6 separate regions of the Homo sapiens genome follow, and all the other regions are linked to region 2. Evidence: promoter capture Hi-C in 16 types of primary human blood cells and fetal thymus (Javierre and others, 2016). All regions are on one chromosome and are shown on one strand. Each heading gives the region's core, a stretch centred on a gene start or on the middle of the fragment in contact. The rest is flanking DNA. Distances are from core to core; before and after follow the strand shown.

The links. Contacts are between HindIII fragments. The CHiCAGO score rates a contact against its expected background, and 5 or more counts as called.
Region 1: a contact is called between a fragment that was not itself captured here and the fragment with the promoter of TBRG1 in region 2, in 3 of 17 cell types (naive B cells, megakaryocytes and total B cells). The highest score is 6.5, in naive B cells.
Region 3: a contact is called between a fragment that was not itself captured here and the fragment with the promoter of TBRG1 in region 2, in 5 of 17 cell types (erythroblasts, megakaryocytes, total B cells and 2 more). The highest score is 14.6, in erythroblasts.
Region 4: a contact is called between the fragment with the promoter of EI24 here and the fragment with the promoter of TBRG1 in region 2, in 8 of 17 cell types (naive CD4 T cells, total CD8 T cells, activated CD4 T cells and 5 more). The highest score is 9.4, in naive CD4 T cells.
Region 5: a fragment that was not itself captured here is called in contact with the fragment with the promoter of TBRG1 in region 2 in 2 of 17 cell types (total B cells and erythroblasts); the score reaches 6.2 in total B cells.
Region 6: a fragment that was not itself captured here is called in contact with the fragment with the promoter of TBRG1 in region 2 in 1 of 17 cell types (total B cells); the score reaches 5.8 in total B cells.

What each region holds. Positions count from the first base shown.
Region 1 is chr11:124,053,402-124,056,101 of GRCh38, reverse strand. It overlaps the pseudogene OR10D5P. Among named protein-coding and RNA genes, the nearest start is that of OR10G7, 13 kb to the right of the region's middle. The HindIII fragment of the contact is 2,119 bases long and covers 371-2,489 here.
Region 2 is chr11:124,621,428-124,624,127 of GRCh38, reverse strand. It overlaps TBRG1 (transforming growth factor beta regulator 1), which reads right to left and starts at 1,264. Exons shown (of 9, transcript NM_032811.3): 1 at 895-1,264. The coding sequence starts at 1,044. It overlaps LOC124902779 (a long non-coding RNA gene), which reads left to right and starts at 927. Exons shown (of 2, transcript XR_007062932.1): 1 at 927-2,700. RefSeq lists an enhancer at 1,118-1,187. The HindIII fragment of the contact is 1,322 bases long and covers 150-1,471 here.
Region 3 is chr11:124,069,700-124,072,399 of GRCh38, reverse strand. No RefSeq gene overlaps it. Among named protein-coding and RNA genes, the nearest start is that of OR10G7, 30 kb to the right of the region's middle. The HindIII fragment of the contact is 5,328 bases long and covers 1-2,700 here.
Region 4 is chr11:125,568,159-125,570,858 of GRCh38, reverse strand. EI24 (EI24 autophagy associated transmembrane protein) reads right to left here and starts at 1,382. Exons shown (of 11, transcript NM_004879.5): 1 at 1,286-1,382. STT3A-AS1 (STT3A antisense RNA 1) reads left to right here. Exons shown (of 4, transcript NR_132372.1): 3 at 417-569. RefSeq lists enhancers at 665-714, 1,217-1,718 and a silencer at 1,155-1,714. The HindIII fragment of the contact is 1,677 bases long and covers 698-2,374 here.
Region 5 is chr11:124,088,576-124,091,275 of GRCh38, reverse strand. No RefSeq gene overlaps it. Among named protein-coding and RNA genes, the nearest start is that of VWA5A, 26 kb to the left of the region's middle. The HindIII fragment of the contact is 7,316 bases long and covers 1-2,700 here.
Region 6 is chr11:123,730,783-123,733,482 of GRCh38, reverse strand. ZNF202 (zinc finger protein 202) reads left to right here. Exons shown (of 9, transcript NM_003455.4): 4 at 2,498-2,700. The coding sequence starts at 2,595. Among named protein-coding and RNA genes, the nearest start is that of ZNF202, 9.5 kb to the left of the region's middle. The HindIII fragment of the contact is 600 bases long and covers 951-1,550 here.

The sequences.
Region 1 (2,700 bases), core at 181-2,680, 570 kb after region 2:
TAGATTTGCTGGCAAATTGAAGAATATTCTGTGTAAACCGAAAAGAAGCTCCTGAGAGAAGTATTTATGTTACCATTTAGACACTACAGAAGCAGCATTAGCACATGGTTAAGACGCTTTGGGTCACATTTTCGCCCAGCAAGTTTTTAACTCCATGACACTGCAGAAAGATCTCAGCCTCTCAGTGCCTTAATTTTCCCTCGTAAATCGAGATAATAGTATTATCTACTTCATATGATTATTATAATCATTACATGTATCAGTATTTGTAAATAGCGCCTGGTACTCAGTCATCAAACAAAATATAGGAGCTAATTGCCCCCAGATAAATTCAAGACAAAGCTGTAAAGACAGACCAGGATATAAAGCTTACCTTCCACAATTATGTACTCCTTGAATGAGCACCTTTCTCAGTGCCAGCTTTACACCTTTGTTTCTCAAAGTATATATCAAAGGATTCAGGGAAGGGATAACAATATTATTCAACACCTGAACCACAGAGTCCAGCCAAGGGCTGGAGGCAGGTCGGAGATAAATGAGGACTATTGGTCCATAGAAGAGCAGGATGGACGTCAGATGGGCACTGCAGGTTGAGAAGGCTCTGCGCCTACCTTCTGAGGAACTGATTTTCAGTATAGAGATAACAATGCAAGCATAAGAGGTGAGGATAAGAAGAAAACACATGAGCGCAACAACACCTACGTTGATGAAACTCACTGTCCGTGCTAGAGAGGTGTCTGCGCAGGCCAGGGGCAGCACCACCGGAATATCACAGAAAAAAATTGTCCACTTCATTGGGGCCACAGTAGGATAACTTAAAGATGAGGAGTGTGAGGACAGATGCATGCAGACAGCTCCCCGTCCAGGTGCCTAGCGTCAGGAGGGCACACACCCTGCGTTTCATGATGACCGTGTATGGCAAAGGGTGGCAGATGGCTGCAAATCGGTCATAGGCCATCACAGTGTACAGGAAACACTCGGTGCAACCCAGGAAATGGTGAAAGAAGAGCTGGGAGGCACAACCCTGGAAAGAGATGGTGCAGCTTTGTCCCACTAAGCAGAGCATCATTTTGGGGGAACTCACTGAAGGGAAAAATATGTCAAACACAGACAGGTTTCCCAGGAAGAAATACATGGGGGTGTGGAGGTTGGAGAAAGTGAGGACGGCCAGAAGAATGAGTAGGTTCCCCAGCAAGGTGAAGAGGTAGAAGGCCAGAAATAAGACAAAAAGCACATTTTCCATCCCCTTTGTATGAGGGATTCCCATCAGGGGGACCTCAGTTACTGGAGTGTGATTCTTTATCTTCATGTCAAATTAGTCCTGGAACATCAAACAATGGCCTCACTGAGATGAGTTTTTCCTGCAAAAAACTCTTTATAGAGCCTATCGCAAACTGATAATAAGTATATAGAGTGGAGAACTTCTAAATAAGACTCAGTTCAATCCTGTCATTAATTATTGAGTGACATTTGGGTAAGTTATTAATCTATTTTTCATCTGTTTCCTCATAAGTAAAATGAAGAGACAACACTAGAGTTGATATAGAAGAGAAGGTGTAGAATAAACTTTACAACTGGAAGTATCTGAGTTTACATACTAAACACGCTGCCCACTCTGACATCAGATGACCTTGAAAAAAACTCTTTAAATCTTTTCTGAATATATATAAATAGTAAAATAATATATTATGGTTCCTGTGTACATTAATGCATTGATGTCTGCAAAGTACCCATATAATTTTGGCTCCTACCCATCTTTGTTAAAAAATTTATTCATCAAATTATTTAATGTGTGCCTTATTCCACAGCATTTCTCTAAGTTGACTTGTAGCAGTTCTGAGATTACCCATTCATGTGACTGATCCGGGAGGCAGCTTTCTCAATCAGCAGCTAGAGTAACTGAAAACTGAGAATTGTCTAATGGGTGTAAAACAGAAAGGAAGCCTGGGCATGGCGGCTCACACCTGTAATCCCAGCAGCTTGGGAGGCCAAGGTGGCAGGATCACTTGAGCCCAGGGATTTGAGACTAGCCTAGGCAATACAGTGACGCCTTGTCTCTTCAAAAATTTAAAAAAAAAGGAAAAGAAAAAGAAAAAACTAGCTGAGTGTGGTGGTGTATGTCTGTAGTCCCAGCTACTTGGGAGGCTGAGGTGGGGAGATCCTTTAAGCTGAAAAGGCAGAGATTGCAGTGAGCCAAAATCATGCCACTGCACTCCAGCCTGGGTGACAGAGTGAGACCCTGTCCCAAAAATAACTTAAATAAAAATAAAGAAATAAAAGAATAGAAAAGATGATATGTAGGTAGGAAAAAGCAATAGATAATTACTGATATTAAAAACAGCCATTTCTTTTAATAGAGTTTAGTGTCCAATAGCAATTATATCTGTGACTTGACTGCAAATAATCATCATTTTTCCTAGAATTAGCTTTATAATTCCCCATTATCACTTTACATCTTATTCATTTCCTAAAATTTCTAAGGTTAAGCTTCATTAATCAGGTAATAGCTCAATAAAATACCATGGAGTCAACTAAGTCAGATTTAGCCCAAAGTCAAACAGAGCCAATTCCCACGTTCTTCCCACCTTCCTCTAGTGCGTAGAACTCATCAGAAGATGAGAGGGGAGCACTCCAGAGAAAAGGCACTCACAGACTGAAGGGAAATGTGGCTGTCCTGGGCTGAAAACCAGGCCCTACGTC
Region 2 (2,700 bases), core at 15-2,514:
AGTTCTCTTAGTTTTACTTTTCTTGTTTCTCTCCAGTGCAAATAGCAAGCAATACACATAGCAAGTGCTGAATAAGTGCTTTTGGAATGTGTATTCTAATTTCTGAACCTTTCCTTATGCTTCCAAAAATGCTGAGAGACGTTCAAGCTTTTGGTAGAGAGAAGAGATGAACTGTTGACTTGGATGTGGGGGGACATTTGAGGACTCCACCCCTATTTCCAAGCACTGAGGCAAGCCAAACTATTCTAATATAAAGTTATGGCTGGCAAGCTATATTAAGTTTATTCACTCAATAAATCCAGTGCTTCTACAATAAAAGAAAGGAAGAAACACTTGGAACACTCAAAGGTTAGAGGGGGGAAATTACTGACAGTTTCATGTACCTCTTTGGGCAAAGGGTCAGTTATGGGGATTTGAGGTGCTCAGAAAATAGTCTGTGTACTGGAAGTCATAAAACGGAATCAGGTTTATCTAAGTTGGAGTCAGGGCTCTGACACAGTACCCTTGGGCAAATCATCTCTCTGGGCTTCAGTGTTCTCATTTTACAAATAATGCCTAATTCTCAGGGCTGTATCTCGAGAATCAAACACATTTCCTAGAGTCCTGCAGTAACAACGATGACTAAAATTTATTGGTATGTCTTTTACGCACCAAGCACTTTTCTTTACTCATTTAATATTCATTATTCTGCAAGACAGTTACTAGCTCATTTACAGATGAGGACACAGAGAAATTACGTAATTTGTCCAAGGACACAAGGCTAACAAGTAGTAACGTATACGGAAAAGCCAACACTGTATTAATACTGTCACACTGGGAAGGGGGAACAGCTTGGGGAAAGATTTTGTGAGGGAGTCTCCAGGAGGGGACCGGCTGAACGTGGGTCAGACTCACAAACACCGTGGCCTTGGCCGCTTTGCGCAGCCGCAGGTACTTCAGCCGGTACTTCTCATTCTGGCTCTTCTTCGGGAGCTTTTTCATCCTGGCCTTGCTGGACTGCAGCGGAGCCCGCGGCGAGGAAGCGAGGCCGTCCAGCAGGCTCATGGTCCAGCCCCGCTACGGGGGCCCCAGGACGCTGCCGGCATCGGATCCTAAGTCGGGGAGCGGGCGGGAGCGCTGGCTTTGTCTGTTCCGGGCTAGCGGAATCGGGCCTCTAGGAATCTAGCTCTCCGGGACGTTCCCAGGGCTGACCGCAGGGCCAGAGACACCCGCAACCGAACGGGCTCCCGGCGCCTCCCAGCACTTCCGTGTCTGTCTTGGAAGTAAGCCCTTCCCGGAAGTTACGTCCCGGTGTCGGCAGTGTGTAACTTCCGGGGCAGGGAGAGTAGGGTGGTCTGGGCGGTGCGATCGTGGGCACCGGGAGGAAAGAGACAGCTGGGGGCTAGTGCTGGATGAGGAGAGGAGGGAGGGCCGGCGGCCGTGTGCTTAGCTGAAGGGTACTATAGTTGAACCAACGAACTAACAAGAAGCTTACCAATGCGAGCTCTCATTCACGCTCCCCCGCTGGGCCACTGCGTTTTAATACGTTTTTCATGCTTCGTGCAGACAGGCTTTCCCAGACTGTAGGACAAAGTGAGCCCAAGTGCTGGGACTCTGCTTCTTTCCCTGCTTCGTTCCTTTCTGCAGCTCACAGAAATGTGTTTGCAGGGCCTCCTAATGCTATCATCTTCCCAGGAGCTGGGAACACAGTAGTGAACAGGAAGAAAGGCCTTGGCTCTTTCTAGTAGGGAAGATGAGAGATTTAACACGCAGTTTTAATACTAGCACTAAGTAGGCACTCAGTAAATGTTTGTCTAGTGAAACCAGAAGTGTATTTCTGTACATAATATGTACATGTATATGGTTCTAACTTTACAACCAAGGTCTATTTAAAATTAGGGAAGATAGAAAAATCTTTAGGGTGCGGTATTGGTAAGTGACCCAGGCTGGATGGCAGAAGGCTTGCTTGCATCTTCTTCCAGCGATGCCAATAACTAGTTCAGTAACTCTCTAGTTTTTTCTCTCAAAAAAAAAATTTGCTGTTCTGCTGTATTTTGTCCTTGCGGGCTTTGGGGTCTGACTTTATTTGTATTATTTATTTTCATATACATGTATCACATCTAGGGGGAAGAAAAGTGCTATCCTTTGTCCTAGTTTGCAGGCTGTTTTGGCCAATGGACTTTAGTGGGATTTGCATGAAGATATTTTTTGTTTCTTCTTCATTGGACACATTTCCTTACACTTACAAAACATTTCATTCGAACTTTAGAAATTTAGAAAATATAGTACAAGAAAGGTTTAAAAATCCATAATGCTACCACTTGGAATGAACTACTTTTACCATGTTAGTATATGTGTCTAATATTTTATGCATTTTTGTATAGGTTAGACAATACTGAAAATAAAGTTTTCTTTTTGTTCATTTACCATTGTATCATTTCAGTTTCACAAATGTTAGTATAGCTTCCTTATAAGCATAATTTTAAGTGGCTGGTTAATATTCCAGTTATGGCTATATTATATTTTGCATAATTATTTCCATGTTCTTTGACTTTTTGGTCAATTCCATTAAAAGCATATCTTTGCGTCCAAAGCTTTTTCCATATAGGACTGTTCAGAGGCTGGATATGTGTGCTCCACAAAGGTCATGCCACTGAGCAACTCATTCAGTCCTTATTTGTTTAGAAGAATATTTACCTAGTGCCTATTATGATACCACCT
Region 3 (2,700 bases), core at 147-2,646, 550 kb after region 2:
AAGAGAGAGACTCCGTCTCAAAATAAATAAATAAATAAATAAATAAATAAATAAATAAATAAATAAAACAAGAAAGAAAGAAAAAGGAAAAGATGTGGAAAAGGTAGAAATAAGTCAGTGTATTCCTGCGGGACTACATAAGACAAAAGGACAAGCACTTCTCTCTTTCCTTCTCCATCACAAACAAACCTTTCCGTCAGATTTAGTGTAAGTTTTATCAAACTGTATGTCACAGAATAGTCAGAATATCCTGTAGCTGGGAAATTCCTTTTATTCTGTTTTCTTTTGTTGAAAGCAAAACTCGTATCACGTTATTAATGCACAATTTCCTGGGTTAAAATTAACTTTGGGGACTCCCTGCCAAAGGAATTCAAGCCCCGCTCTATGGAAGGAAAAAAAAAGAAGTCAAATTCCCTTCTCTGCTAGCTCAGAAGAGGAATGATGAAGGTACGTGCTGAAGCCGATCTGTCGGCCACGTGCTTTTAGCACCAAGTGGTTCTTGTGCAGTCTGTAAACACAGGCAGGGTCCTGTGACCTTTGCCAGCTGTATTTCCATCAAGACTTTCTCCATTCTTACCTGAAACACCTTGTGAACCCAATGGCTGTTTACACACAAAGAGTCGTGGGTCTACTGACACCAATTGGTAAAAATGGTAGCAATTGACTGGTTATTTAACTGGCTCTCTAGAAAGACTATAGCACATGGTGGTGCCATCAGAAATCATAAGCATCACAGACCTCTCTAACACAGTTCTAATAATAATTTCAACCATTCTTTATCCTATTGATTCAGCTCCAGGGTCTTTATTGCAAGCTACTTGTTAGTGAAGAGGAATCTGGTTGTCGGTGCCCCAATAGTGCCATCTGCCGGCCGATGTTAGGTATTTCACCTTAATTCGGAGTCCTGTTTCAAGAGCGGGATTTCAAAATCAAGAGTACTACTGGAAATGGAAATATCATTGCCCTACCAAAATCAGAAATTAGAAGACCTCTAGACACTTTTTTTCCCCAAAGTCATGAACATCTTCCTGTAAATGAAAATTCCTGTAATGGTACACAATTTGTAGATGTGAAAGAATCCTCTAAAATGATCTAGTTCAACCTCTTCATTTTACAAATATTAGAACTAAAGCCATAGAGACAAAATAATTTATTCAGGACCACACAGGCTATTATTAGTGGAACCACTGTTAGAACCCCGGTATTTTGCTGATTCACACATAAGTGCTTTTTAACATGCTATAAGCAGGAAAGATATTTATAGTCTTTCCCACTTCCTCATCTGAGGCCACTATGAAAGAACACTACTATTACTATTACTTTCCTACGCCTCCACCATGAGAACAGTCACACACACACACGCACACACACACACACACACACTCTCATAGTCACAAAAGGATATTCTACTTATAATCAGAAATCCTCTTGAAACAAGAATTAACATTCAAAATGTGAAAACCTACAAAAATAAAATTATTAAAAATAATTACAGCCTTTTTTTAAACTTTATTCTGACAAGAGCATTCTAAAACCTTCAGCAAATAGATATGTCAGCAAGTAAACAGTTTTAAAAATGGAACTAGGCCAGGTGTGGTGGCTCACACCTGTGATCCAAGCACGTTGGGAGGCCAAGGCAGGAGGATCACTCAAGCCCAGGAGTTTGAGACCAGCCTGGGCAACATGGTAAAACCTTGTCTCTACAGAAAATATAAAACTTAGCTGGGCATGGTGTCACATGCCTGTAGTTTCAGCTACTTGAAGGCTGAGGTGAGAGGATCGATTGAGCCCAGAAGGTTGAGGCTGCAGTGAACTAGGATTGTATCTCTGCATTCTAGCCCGAGAGACAGAGCAAGAACCTCAAAAAAGTAACTAAACTTTATTTTTGTATAATTAAACAAATTTGGTTAGGGCTCCATTTTATTCCATAACATGAAGTAGGGTGTGTGAATATGATAGCTGTGACACAAACTATGCTGGCGGTGTAAGATTTCTGCTCTACGGAAGGTAGCTAAATAGACATGAGGGACCAAGCAGAGTGGGTTCTCCACTGGGAGAAAATGTGAACTGGCTAACATGTAATGACCTTTTCACTATAATTTCATAATTCAATTTTTCTGCACAGTACTGATATGGGAGGGGGCAAGGAAGGGCTGGGAGGAGAACGGCGGGTCCCTGGGGAGGGCTCCACCCCTGGACCTGTGCCCATGGAACTAGGGGAGAACAGGCACTCCTGCTTTCAGGTCCAAATGTTGCATTTCCCAAGACCACCCTGGCCCACCATGTCCCCATCCTGTGCCTATAAAAACCCTGAGACCCTAGTGCGCACGGACACAGCAGCTGGACATCGTGAGAAACACATCAGCAGGAGAACACAGAAGCGGCTAGACATCAAGAGGAACACTTCGGTTGAAGAGCACACCGAACGGCACCAGCAGACGCCGGCAGGCCATTGACCAGTGGAATGAAGCGGAGTTTAGCTGGAGCTGTCAGAGGAGAGTCACGCCGCTGAGCTGACTCCATGGGAAAACCACCTTCCCGCTCCCCTTCTGGCTCCCCATCCGTCTGCTGAGAGCTATTTCCACCATTCAATAAAATTTGGCACTCATTCTCCAAGCCCATATGTGATCTGATTCTTCTAGTACACCAAGGCAAGAACCCCGGGATACAGAGAGTCCTCCACCCTTGCTATAAGGCAGA
Region 4 (2,700 bases), core at 133-2,632, 950 kb before region 2:
TAGCAAAGGCTCAGTGATATGCACGACACTAGTTTGTAAAGACTCACAGATCCACTCCCGTAACCTGCCACTGGCTCATCTATAAATTAAGGGTACTAAACTTCTTCATAGGTTTCTTGCATCTAATAGGGCACAACAGCATGAAAAAAACTTAAAATTCTATATAAACACAACCCCACCAAAGTGAGCCAGCTTGGAGGTTTAAGGAAGCCCATTACTTGGCCTGGATTTCTCACAGGGAACTGACAGGGAACCTGAAACATTCTGTCTCAGTCCACAACAGCTGTGTCATTTGATCCCTGGCCAGCTAACACCTGGTTTCTGCATGTACCAAGTGGCAGGACACCTCCTAAGAGTGACCTATGAAGGATAAATCACTTCACTTTTATACTTAGATCCTAACATCCTTCCTACAGGAATATTTGGTGAATTACCCAGTCTGACAAATAGCTGAGGCATGGGGAAAAATAACCTGCCACAATTTGAGAACACACACACAGACTGAATGACACAGGGGGAATCCTACAGCTGAGCTAGACAGATGAAGATGCATCTGGCTCATTTAACAGGTGAGAGAACCCAGTCTCAGAAGTTAAATGACTTGCCCAGACTGACAGCAAATGAATGGCAGCTACAGTGAACCTCAGAACCCGGTGTTCTAACGTTACCTCGGTCGAGACTTGTTTTTACTTAAGCTTTGCAATGAAGATTTTTGTTTTAACACGAGCATCCCATGGACAAATAACCTCTCAAACCTGGAAATACAAATGCCATTAAATTCCCAACAGTCATTAGAAGCTAATAAGCATCTGCTGAGACACACTTTTATTTCTAAGTCACTAAACCCAAGTCTCGGCAAACAGGAAGCTGTCGTAGCCCACTCCAGGTACAGGGAAGGTAAACATCCTCACTTCCCACGGGGCTCCACGGGCTGCCTCTGAGTCCACGGGTCCATTCAGGCCCATCTCCCCACAGCTCCTAGGCAATTCGGCAGAAAACTGGTCTCCCTAGGCACAACTGTGCACGAGGTACGGATCACGCGAGGTGCGGATCACGCACGCTCCGGGTCACACAGGGAGCTAAAGATAGCTGCGCCGCACCTGGGGCAGCCTCGCCCGGGGATGTGCCCGGCCCCGTCCCGCTCCCTCCGGCCCCTTCCCATAAGGGGTCCTCGCCGGTAGCCCCACCAACCCACGCTCGGGCCCTGCCTGCCCTCCCGGTCCCTGCCACTCAGAATGGGCGGCGCGGCGGCCCCGAGGCCTAGCTCGGCTGAGCCCGCACCTACCCACAGCTCCGCCGCCGCGGCTCCGGCCCTGCCCCTAGCCCACCGCAGGCCAGCTCCGCCGGGGCGCTTCCAGGGCCGGGGCCGCTGCGCCCGCACTGGGCATGCCCGGGCCGCACGGGGCCGCTGGGAAGTCGGGCGAGCGCGAAGAACCAGCCGGCACCACGAGGCGGGGCCCAGAGCCGAAGGGGTGGGCCGCGCGGAGCGACGGAGACTGGGAAATGTAGTCAGTCCGGGGTCCCGCCTCGCGCTGCGTGCGGGATCGTCCGGCTCCCAACTCCGCCTGGCGGCGGAGAGGACCCCTCACCCCTCCGCGTCGCCTCCTCCCCGTCGCCTCCTCGCCGATCCCGTTCTCACAGATCTCTCCTCCTGTTCTTTGCCCTCCCCCATTGACTCCACAACGCTGCTTGCGTTTCTAAAATCCTGTGAAATTAGTAACAGGATGCCTTTAATCCCAGCATTTTGGGAGGCCAAGGCAGGCAGATCACGAGGTCAGGAGTTCAAGACCAGCCTGGCCAACATAGCGAAACCCCATCTCTACTAAAATAACAAAAATTAGCCAGGTGTGGTGGTACCTGCCTGTGGTCCCAGCTACTCAGGAGGCTGAGGCAGGAGAATTACTTGAACTCAGGGGATGAAGGTTGCAGTGAGCCGAGATCACACCACTGCACTCCTGCCTGGGCGACTGAGCAAGACTCAGTCTCAAAATAATAATAATAATAATAAATTTAAAAAATGAAATAAAATAAGTGGCTGGGCACGGTGGCTCATGCGTGTAACCTCAGCACTTTGGGAAGCTGAGGCGGGCAGATCACTTGAGGCCACCCTGGCCAAGATGGTGAAATCCCGTCTCTACTAAAAATACAAAAAATTAGCTGGGCATGGTGGCACACACCTGTGGTCCCAGCTACTTGGTCGGCTAAGGAATGAGAATCACTTCAATTCAGGAGGCAGAGGTTGCGGTGAGCCGAGATCGCACTACTGCACTTCAGCCTGGGTGACACAGCTAGACTGTCTCGAAAAATAAAATAAAATAAAACAAAACAAAACAATATAAAATAGAATAGAATAAGGAATCCATCTACTAAAGCTTAGAAATCTTGTTACAAAGAGACCTAAGTGGTTTAATGACAAACTGATTATTGTGCTATTAATTATAATAATAGCTCTTCCTCCAAGCTCTATTCTTTCTCAAGAGTGTCAATTTAGAAAAGATTTTAGAAAGAATTTAGTAGGTATGAGTTTATTCTGGCTTACTTCATGGGAGGAAATCTTTTTTTTTTTTTTTTTTTGAGACTGAGTCTGTCTTTGTCTCCCAGGCTGGAGTGCAGTGGTGCGATCTCGGCTCACTGCAAGCTCCGCCCCCTGGGTTCACGCCATTCTCCTGCCTCAGCCTCCTGAGTAGCTGGGACTACAGG
Region 5 (2,700 bases), core at 107-2,606, 530 kb after region 2:
CTGTCTTCAATATCCATGTTTTCTTTCCTGGCCTTCTCTTTTTGGCAGGCAAGTGCTGAAACAGCCATATGTTTCACAACCTCCACTCTTCTGTCTTTTAACATGCACACATACACACATACACACTTCTGTTTTAAGCATGTTGCCACTTGTCACTACAAAGAAACAGATGGCAATACTGAAAAATAATAATCACTTGTAAAGTTACAATGGTTTAGAAAATCTCTTTGAATTTTTCCCTGACAGTTTCCTCTAATGTGTATTAAAATGTCATTCCAGCTCTTCTCTCCCAGTTGCTTCACTTTTCATCCACGGCTCAGGTTTACAGGCTAAGCACCTGGATTCAGAAATTTCTTTAGTTAATGGAAGAACCAAAAGTAGAATCCAGGTCTTCCGATTTTCAGTTCAGTTCTCATTTTACTTCACAAACTTATAATGCCAAGTGAGAAATGTATGGATAACCTTGATGCAACATAAGTTTAATTAATCTTTGCACAAGTCGTAACAGCAATAAATATACTAAATAAAAATAAATATTTTATTGTAAGAATGTATCTGTTGAATCAGAATATTTATTTATTCTAATATAAAACATTGACAGATTTTAAAAATAAAAAATTTAACACAAAAGAAATAATTTCTAGTTTTTCTGTTCTGTTAAAGCATTCCTAGAAGTTTCATCAAATTGACTTTTAAAGATTTAAACAATTTCAGACTTACAGAAAAGTTGAAAAGGTAACATAAAGTCCATGTATATTTGTTACTCACATTCCCAATGTTATCAGCATATTGTATTTGTTTTATCCCTTCTCTCTCTCATTCTCTCTCTAATCCTTCCCCCAATATTGTGTGTGTGTGTGTGTGTGTGTGTGTACACTTTATTCTGAACGAGTTGCAATCATGTGGTCCTTTTCCCCATATCTTACTTAAAGTTTATTTCCTAAAACAAAGGGTGTCCCCTTATATAACTATAATATAGTTATCAAAACCAGGAAATGAATATGGATACAATACTATCATCTAATCTACAGGTATTCTTTAGCTTTTCCCAATTATTCTAATAATGTTTTTATAGCACAAAATGTCCAGGATTATATATTGCATAATGTTATTTATCTTTTTTTAAAAAACTGGAATAGTTCCTGAGTCCTTTGTATTCCAGGACATTATTGTTTTTGAATATTTTAAGATGGGTACTTTGTACAACATACATCAGTTTGAGTTTGTCTAATGTTTTCTCCTGATTAGATTCAGGTAATGTGTTTTTGACAGAACCAACTCCAAAATGATGCTGTGTTCTTTCTAGTATATTATATCAGGAGGTACTTGCTGTGAATTTGTTCCATTACTAGTGAGGTTAATTTTTATCATTTGGTTAAGGTAGTGTCTGTCAGACTACTCAACCATAAAGTGATTATTTTACCTTCCTAATTAATAATGATTTTTTGGAGGGATGGAAACTTTGCAATTATGTACATATCCTATTACTTCTCAATTTTATCTGCCAGTTTTAGCATCCATAGATTATTCTTGTCTGAATTATTATTATAATTGCCAAATAATAACTTTCCAAATTAATTATTCTTACCACATTAGGTCATTGGTTTTCTACTATAAAGAAGATCTTTATCTCTCCCTCTATTTATATCAAATGACACTGTAACTAATTGTGATATCAATCTTTCTGCTCTGTCAGCTGGAATCATGGGATAAGATGATTATACTAGGATATTATCTCTCATCGGAGGAGGAATATCCCTTTTTAAGAAAGGAGATGTAAAAAATATTAAAGGGAGATCCTTCCACTAAACTAGATGACTTTTAAGTTACCTTCCAACTCTGAAATACTAATTCTGTGATTCCATATGGCTGTCTCATAACAGTAGAATCTCTTACATCATTGGAAAAATGGAAGCATAGACAGAGGAAGAAATGGCATATGGGAAGCCTGGGAGGGAGGGGGGTTAGGAACCTTTGTAAATCAGCCAACAGATAAAAACAAGTCCTCTTTCACTTGCTTGGTACCTGCCAGTTGTAAATATTAAATATTAAATACTAGGCAATAACGGCAGTCAAGCAAATAACAGGATTTATTTGTTTTAAGAAGAGACACGATCAGAATATATTATAGAGAGATCACCAACATTTTTCAAGACAGGAGATGCAAGTTCCCTGGACCCAAATCTCACCATTGAACACAGGGCTGTTCATGAGAATATAGGAATGAATAAGTTTACATTAGAGTCTCTGGAAACATCATTCACTCCCCTCAGACTGTATATTAGAATATAAGGCTTGACCATTCCTGTATGTATGTGTTGCCAAATACCTCAGCCAGGAGCAGTTATACCTCATCAATCTCAGCATTATACAAGTACACAATATGATTATAGAGTGCACAGTAAACTCACACCGTGACGAAGTCCTAAACCACTGCTTTCGGTCTCTGCAGTCTACAGCATTTGCTATGAAAACATTTCTGAATTAGGTGCTGCAGAATTAGAAAATGAATCCGTTTCCCAGAGTTCTTGGGAAATCACATCAAGAATTCCAACGTCCATCTCAATCAGGACTTTATTTCAATCTATACCTTTACATCATCCAAAGGTGTTTAAAAATTTCAGTTTCTACAAAACATAATTGCCTTGCACTCTATACTAGTCAAAAGGCCTAAGTCAAGTGCACTGGGAATAGAACACT
Region 6 (2,700 bases), core at 1-2,500, 890 kb after region 2:
CAGGACTCCCAAAGTAAAAAGATGGACATAAAATAAAAAAATTACAAGCCACTTGAGAAAAAAATAAATCACCATGAGGTAGAGATAGCAGAGGAAAAATTACACATGAAGATCTAGGAATTAGGGAGCTATCCAAGATAGACTGTGAAAGTATGTTGCAAGTGACTGAGGGTAATGAAAAAAATGTCATAAGAGCATGAATTAGAAGCGTTTTGAGAAAGAATGAAGATAATGTGATCATTGACTGTAAACTCATTTGATGGGCAACAATAGATGAGACACAGCTATTAAGAGTGGATCGATAACCTTGAATGTGGATGTGAGGCAACTGTAGTATAGCACAAAAAGGTTGAGAAATGATGGAGCCCTTAAGCTGCTTGTGGACACTGGTCTGGAGGGGGACAGGACCAAGAAAACCAGTCATGGAGGTTGAACTAAGTCATCTCTCCAATGTATCCGTGCCTGTTACGTGCCAGTGCCGTTTAGGAGCAGAGGATATTGTAATTTTTTTTAAAGTTCCTATGAATACCTTCTAGTGGGTCATAATGGCTCAACCGGGAAATGGCAGTAGAGATGAAGAGATGGATGGATTCGAAAGACATTTTTTGGAAGTTGGAATTAACAGGATATGGTGAATAATCAAGAGATAGTAAAAGCATAATGGAGGAAACAATGGTTCTTCCTGTTACCATAGGAAGAAGCTTTGGAGTAGAGTTTTATTCATTTTAAATGCATTTATTGTGCACTTTATTATAGGTATTGGAGATTGATGGAAAATAGTCTCTGACCTCAAAGAGTTTCACAGGAAAGATGAGCGATGGCTATGTAATATGACCAATACTGGGATAGAGAGGTGCCCAGGTCACTACGGGAGGACTTAGGTGATTTCTAACTATGTCTGAGAGTAGGGGAAATGGGATCAAAGAAAACATCTCAGAAGACATGAAGCTTGAGCTTATGTCTTGAAAAATTTAAAGTTTAACCTAACCAAGGATAAAGAATCAGAAGAAACAGCATATTCAAAAGCTAAAGAACACGGGACTCTTGTGTGCTTTGCATGTACACACGTGTGTGCGTGTGTGTCTGAAAGGATTGGAGAGGAGGGCGAAGAGAATAACAAGATGAACGTCAACCTAATGTAGAATGTTTGAAGTTTGTATTTCACTTAACAAGACAGCGGGGAGTGATGGAAGGATCTTAGATAGGAAAGGGACATGAGCACGTTTGCCAAGAGAGCTCGTTCTGATCATAGTGGGTACGTGAAGGTGACAAATCTGGAGGCAGATAGCTCACATTTGGAGGCAGTTGCAGTCATCCAGATGAGAAGTGAGAGGGACCTAAGCTGTAAATTGTGGGAATAAAGACAAGACCCGTTAAAAAGAAAGAGAACACACCATGTAGCGTGGAAAGGAGAAGGGTGGAGAGTAGCCTGTGCAGAAGGAACAACCTTCAAAAAGACATGGAAGACTGAAAAGACACCCTGTTGTAGGGAGATCAGCAATGCATTTTTTATAACCAGGTGATACAGGGAAAAGGTAGGATCTGAAGCTTGAAAAATAGATTGGGGGCTGATTGTAAAGAGCTTCGTGTCATTCCCAGGATTTTGGAACTGATTTTACTAACATGAAAAAGGTTTTGTTTTAAAATACTGAGTAATATAGTTGGAACTATAATTTAGAAAGATAATAGCTGGTGCCATCACTCTTCTAAGCAAAGATAGTAATACATTTAATGCTCATAGGCTTTAGTAATACATTTAATCCTTACAGTAAGCCTATTAGATAAAAACCATTATTATCTCCCTTCTATAGACAGAGAAACTGGCATTAGGAGAATGAGAACTTGCCTATGGTCCCACTCTGGAAATACCTAGTAAGCGACAGAGCCAGGATTCAAACCCAGGCAGCTTGACTCCAGAACTTTCGCTCATAACCTTACACATCTCCCTCATGGTTGGTGTTTCTCAACCATGGATACACATTCGAACTGCAAGTAGCATCTCTAAACATACAGTTACCTGAATTGACTGAATCAGAGTGTCTGAAAAATGATGTGTGATACTATGTTTTGCAAAATCTCCACAGGTAATTCTGTTGTACTTTGCTTATAGTTGAGTACTGCAGGGATCTTAGGAAGTTAGAGCAGTAGTCCAGGCAGGAGATGATGAAGGCTCAAACTAAAGCAGTCTGTAGGAAGGAAGAGAAGGGAACCGGTTTGGAGACTTAAGCGGGGGAATTGGCAGTATTTGTGAAGTGGAAATGCAGTATTTTCTTGCAGAGTATGAACCTTGCCTAGGAAAGGGAGTAGAGGACCATACCTTTAGTTGTAAATTATCCTCTCCCAACTGGATCTGTTGATTTATGGCTATGGTGGTTGGGGAAAAGAGGATTTAACCATTTGAAGAAGTTTGTGTAGAGGATTATGATTGAACTCAGGCTGTTGTCCTTGTGTATAGTTTCATGCTTATACTCTTGTTTGTCTTTACTTCTCTATCCAGGGCCCTTGGAAGAAAATCCTCGCTGTGTCCAGGCTGAGGCGGGGGGCTAATGACAGTGTGAGCTCTAGATGGTGTGAGACCACCCCAAAGCCAAGAAATGGCTACAGCCGTGGAACCAGAGGACCAGGATCTTTGGGAAGAAGAGGGAATTCTGATGGTGAAACTGGAAGATGATTTCACCTGTCGGCCAGAGTCTGTCTTAC